Linked DNA regions of Homo sapiens: region 1 is linked to region 2. Evidence: promoter capture Hi-C in human tissues and cell types (Jung and others, 2019). All regions are on one chromosome and are shown on one strand. Each heading gives the region's core, a stretch centred on a gene start or on the middle of the fragment in contact. The rest is flanking DNA. Distances are from core to core; before and after follow the strand shown.

What was found. The method cuts DNA at HindIII sites, captures the fragments that hold promoters and counts their contacts. A contact is called where the count stands out against the background at its distance.
Region 1: a contact is called between a fragment that was not itself captured here and the fragment with the promoter of TTF1 in region 2, in 1 of the 25 tissues and cell types used here (thymus).

The regions. Positions count from the first base shown.
Region 1 is chr9:132,452,276-132,455,298 of GRCh38, reverse strand. The region is part of intron 1 of CFAP77 (cilia and flagella associated protein 77); the gene reads right to left. Among named protein-coding and RNA genes, the nearest start is that of CFAP77, 44 kb to the right of the region's middle. The HindIII fragment of the contact is 4,956 bases long and covers 1-3,023 here.
Region 2 is chr9:132,405,401-132,408,100 of GRCh38, reverse strand. It overlaps TTF1 (transcription termination factor 1), which reads left to right and starts at 1,261. Exons shown (of 11, transcript NM_007344.4): 1 at 1,261-1,311. The HindIII fragment of the contact is 7,318 bases long and covers 204-2,700 here.

The DNA.
Region 1 (3,023 bases), core at 156-2,655, 47 kb before region 2:
CTGACCTCAGGTGATCCACCCGCCTCGGCCTCCCAAAGTGCTGGGATTACAGGTGTAAGCCACAGCACCCAGCCAGTTCCACTTTTTAAGGTAAGAACCCCACACTACTGGGCTCTGCTGCAATGACAGATGGTATTGCCATCAACAAGGTCCCAGGCCTGATAAAGCCTAGGAAAGGGCCAGCTAGGATCTGCGAGTAGAACAAACTTCACAAGATATCACTGGGCCTTCCCATGGACTGGAGTTCTTTGTGCAGGCTAATTTATTGCCTTTTCTTTCTTTTTTTTTGTAGGATGTTATGACATTTTGTGATGTCCTCACTTCAGGTAATCCTGGGATGGTCTAAGTGATCACTCTCTGACTTAAGGGGACTTTGAAAGAAGTGCCTCAGTGTGTGGTTTGGGTGGGGAGAATTGGCTCAAGTCACTGACTGATTGAAGTCAACAGATGGCCTTAGGTGCCTGAGGTCCACATGTCTACCAGGAGGGCTGGGCCACTAGATGGCTGGCCTGTCCCCATCCACTCAATAACAAGGGCAATGCTGGCCCCTGGCTACGTTATAGGTATGTCTGCCTTCTCAAAGCTAGGATACTGTTGCATAATTAGGAGTGCTTACTTGCTTTCCTGAAGTAGTCTTCACTTCTAGAAAAGGATTCACCACGTGGTTCCATTCAAAAGGGCATTGTATCAAACTATCACTCAATTGGTAAAAAATGTGATGTGTGGGCAGCTTTTCCAGAACACACCAACCAATGAACAATATCAGAGATGCCGATTTCAGCACCTGTTCCCTTTACTTGCAAATGGAAACCTCAGTAACACCTGAACACGTTTTATGGAGAAAGAAGCTTAGTTCCACTTTATTCATGTGGGGAAGTAAAACCAAAGTTTTACCCTAAAAGTTCAAAGAAATCGAACTGACTTACACTGGTTATTTAATATTTTAGAAAGCCCTCGGTTTCCTGGGATGACAAGCTACTCACTGTGTTTTCAGCCTGATCTGATTTTTAAATAGATGAGTTACAACCCTCCTGAAAATTGGGGTTTATAATTGAAATATTGATAAACTCTTTCCCATAAAGAAGCTACTAGATACTGCAGTAATAACTAGGAAATAGGCAAAAAATTATGATGCTTTTCTCTGCTTAGCCAAGAAGTACAATGGCAGAGTTTATTGCATACAAAACACAGCTGCCTTTCTTCAAATTGGATACAAAAAAAATGAACCCCGATAAATTATGATGCCCCTAAATTGCAAAGAATGTACATCAATTATTGGGGGTGCCACCGCCCTCCTTCTGGGCAACCTACTTATTAGGACTGTAATTTATTATTATTATGCTTTGGTGCAAATACACACGCTGATAAATTCAAATCTGTTAAAACAAATGTCCTCCTTTCTCTGAATCAGTAAGGGACAACATTCCAAAAGAAAGTATTGTAAATGTGAAAAGCAAATGGCTCTTACGTACTCAGAAGTGAGAGACCAAAAGATGATTGATTAAGGGAGAAAACATCCAGAATGATCCAAGCTTTCTGACTCCTACCCAAGAATCCAAGAATTGCTACAAGAGTGGGCAGCAAGATACAGGGTTGGGGTTCATTACCTGGTGCCCCTGGCTCCAGCCCCCACACTGAAGCCCTTTTTATGAAAACAAACGGTTTCTGTGGGGTTTTTAAATGAATCTTTTGGCTTCAATTGGAACCAACATGATATATATTTCCTTCCACCAGATATATGAATTATATTGGCTTTATTTTATTTTATTTTTTGAGACGGAGTCTCGCTCTGTCGCCCAGGCTGGAGTGCAATGGCGTGATCTCAGCTCACTGCAACCTCCGCCTCCCGGGTTCAAGCAATTCTCCTGCCTCAGCCTCCCAAGTAACTGGGATTACAGGCGCATGCCGTCTTGCCCAGCTAATTTTTTTGTATTTTAGCAGAGACGGAGTTTCACCGTGTTGCCCAGGCTGGTCTCGAACTCCGGAGCTCAGGCAATCCACCTGCCTCAGCCTCCCAAAGTGCTAGGATTACAGGTGTGAGCCACTGCGCCCGGCCTATATTGGCTTTTTAAAAAGCTGAACGTTAAATTTGGGAAGGATTTTAGGAATCACTGTTACTCCCCTCCTTTTACAGAAGAGGAAATGGAGATTCACTGAGGGCATGAAGGGAAGAGTGAAGGCTGAGTGTCAGGTCCATGCCCCAGGTTCATCCAGCTTCACTAACTTGCTGCTTGGCAAAAGAAAAGCCAAGTGGTTCGTGTTGACTGAGCACACACCATGAGTCTAATGCTTTTCTCTGCTTAGCCAAGAAATACAATGGCAGAATTTATTGCCATTAACTCTGCTTAATGGCAGCGCCACTAAGAGCTTTTCAGGTATATTAGGAATGGAACTCCTTCTTAGAGTCAAAGAATTTGAGAGTCAGAAAGGGTCATCTGGTCCTCCCTCCTGCTCAGGTCCAATAAATGTTCCTTGCAGAGTCAGTGGGTCTCCAGGCTGTTTAGTTCCTTCTGGGACAGAGCACCCCTGCTGCATGAGGCACCCCATCTCAGCAACAGATCCGTCACACTCTCGGGCACCTCTTCTTTATATCCAATTGGAGTCTGCCTCCCTGGAGCTTCCACCGAGGTCCTAGTCCTGATTCTTAGTTGCTGGGCACAGGCCTGACTCCTGGTGCAGAATCCAATGTTAGTGGCAGTTCAATAGCTCTCTCTGGAGTAAAACAGAAAAGCCACCTTCTTCAGAGACTTGAAAATCATGCTCCAATTCTATTTTGGCCTTTTCTTCTCCTTCAACTGGTCCTCCTGTGGTTTCTGGACTGCTCACCAACCTGGCCCCCTCCTCTTCAGGCTGCAGTACCCAAGGTAATCAGAGCTGAGCCCAGGTGCTCTTTGCAAAGCAGGGGCACGGGAAGGGGTCTTGCCTATTTATAACATCAGTGCCCAAACCAACGCCACCTGGCTGCTGTAAGAATGTTCTCAACAGGCTTGACTTTCCGCTTAGGAGAAGGCAGTGGATGCTCT
Region 2 (2,700 bases), core at 12-2,511:
ACGGACCTGGACTTCAAGGCCTTCCATATCAACAGTGGACAACACCACATTTACAGACTTCTCCAGACGGAGCTCCAACTGCACGTCCACATCCCAGAGCAGCCCTTGCATGGCAACATGAGTACATACATAGGCTCATCGTTTCTCCAACCTGCTTCCCTTCCAGACTTTCACGGAAGCATAGTTTGTGCATTTTTTAATCAAAGCCACTTGGCAGATCACATAGAAGTCAGGTGGAACAGTGAGGGGCAAGATAGTGGAGTAGTAGAAAGAGCATAGGTCTGATTTCTGGCTGGCCCATTTAAGTCACCTTGGACAAGTTACTGTAAACCCAGGTTTCTCATCCACAAGGTGGGGCTAATAATACCTCATTACAAGGATTAAGTGAGAAAACTTGTTGCCTATATCGTATATGTTCACTATCCAAAAAGGTTAAACGTTTGGTTGGTAAATATAATGGCCTCGAATTGATGGCCAGGTTAAAGCTGCCCTTTTGGCTAAGTCTCTTCAGGACTCTGTTGAAATGGGAAGACTGGGATAGATCTCCAAAGCTCCTGCTAACTCTAAACTTCTGAGACTTCATCCAAGCTTAACATCCATCAGCCTCTGCACCAGATAGCCCCTGCAGACCTCTGACTTCCTCTCCCACCCCCTCCCCTGCATTCACATGCATTCACTTAGGCTGGGCGTGTGCGACCTGTCTGTCACCCTGTGGGTTCACTGTGTGGATTCACTCTGTGCTCCAGCTGCTCTGGCCTTGTCCCAGGTCCTCCAGCAACCAAGTTCAGGACTTTTGCACTCACTTCCAGCCTGGAACACTCTTCTGCCTAGATTTTTTGCCTGCCCTTTCCATTTAGAACTCAGTTCAAATGTCACCTCCTCAGTGAGCCCTCTCTTACATCTAAAGTAGCACCCACCGTCCCCTAGTCACTCTCCATCACGTCACCCTGTTTTATTTTCCTTACAAGATAATCTGAAATTATCTTAGTTGATTTGTCATCTGTCTTCCCAAGTTGTTCCTGGAGTTCACCAAAAACTGGAATAAATGGAATGCACGCATGCATTAGTACGTCAATGGAGGGGGATTCTGTCCTACTTTCTTCGTTTCAGGAGCACTCTCTACCCCACCTGACGTCTAAAGGACCCAGAAGGAAAATGGGTAGGCAAATGTGCGCGCCTCCAAGGCCTAGCGGCAGCCGTGTTACCATGGCAGCGTGACGCCGAGGGGGCCGGAAGGCGACGCACTACTACTTCCGCTTCCTCAACAGCAGCACTTCCGGGTTGGGAGAAAGGTGGCGGCGCTTTCGGAGGGTAAGTTGAAAGCGCCTTTGTTGTTTCTGTTTTTCAAAATGCGCGCGTAAAAACTCAGCGTGGGGTGGTGGGTTTCCCCGTCTTCTGGGAGACCCGCCTTTTGGCCTGAGGTCTCCAGGCCGCGGTCTTTGCCCCAGGCCTTATCTCGGGGAAACTGAGGCTTGGGTGTTTTTTTTTTTTTTTTTTAAAGATGGAGTTTTGCTCTTGTCGCCCAGGCTGGAGTGCGGTGGCGCGATCTCGGCTCACTGCAACCTCCGCTTCCTGGGTTCAAGCGATTCTCCTGCCTCAGCCTCCCGAGTAGCTGGGATTATAGGCGCCCGCCACCAAGCCTAGCTAATTTTTGTATTTTTAGTAGAGACAGGGTTTCACCATGTTGGCCAGGCTGGTCTCGAACTCCTGACTTCAGGTGATCCACCCGCCTCGGCCTCTCAAAGTGCTGGGATGACAAGCGTGAGCCACCGCGCCCGGCCGCGGCTTGGGTCTTTGGGAGTGAGAAGATGCAGAATTCACATCTGGTTAGTTCCTCCAGTCTCAGCCCTGGAGCGCCCACCCGGGAGCAGAGCGGGGTCTCTCTCGCACCCCAAAGGCGGTGAGAGAATCCGGGACCAGGTTTGGGCACGTACCTGCAGAGCGGGAAGTGTATGTTCTGAGTAAGGGGGGATAAATGCATATCCGTTCTCAATATGTATCGAGCACTGACTGGGGAGCCATTTGGGAGCAAGATGGCCAGGATTCCAGCCCTCAAGAAGCCGATCATATTATAACTGCCAAAAGTGCAATGGGGAGCAGCTGGTTGTTGGGAAACACTGTTAACCAGAAAGATGAGACCGGCTAAGGAGTTAGAGAGGTCCTCTTGAGAAAGTGGCTTTCATACTTGGACCAGTTAAAGGGCAGAAAGGTAATGCGGAGGAAGAGCTTTCCTGATGGAATGGGCTGTTTTTGCAAAGTTCCTGAGACGAAAAGGAAGGTAGTGTATTCTAGGAACTGAAAACAGCAGGGTTTCTGAAACCTAGAGAGAAGTGAGAGGTAGAGAGGTGGGCATGGACTTACCTCTGTCCATCTCTAGGCTAGATTATGAAGAAATGAAGACTCTTGCAGGTCTGTGAGGATTTTGACTTTATCTTAAGAATAACAGGGGAACCCTAAAAAGTTTTTAGCAGGGAGAGACTATATATTTAGAAGGTTGTACTGGGCTCCAGAGACCAGAGAGCAGCCTAGGAAGTATTTACAAAAAAGAAGGAAAGGAACTGATGGAAGGGGAAATGTTATTTAAAGAAATCAAGGCCGGGCGCTGTGGCTTACGCCTGTAATCCCAGCGCTTTGAGAGGCCGAGGCAGGTGGGTCACCTGAGGTCAGGAGTTCAAGACCAGCCTGGCCAACATGGCGAAA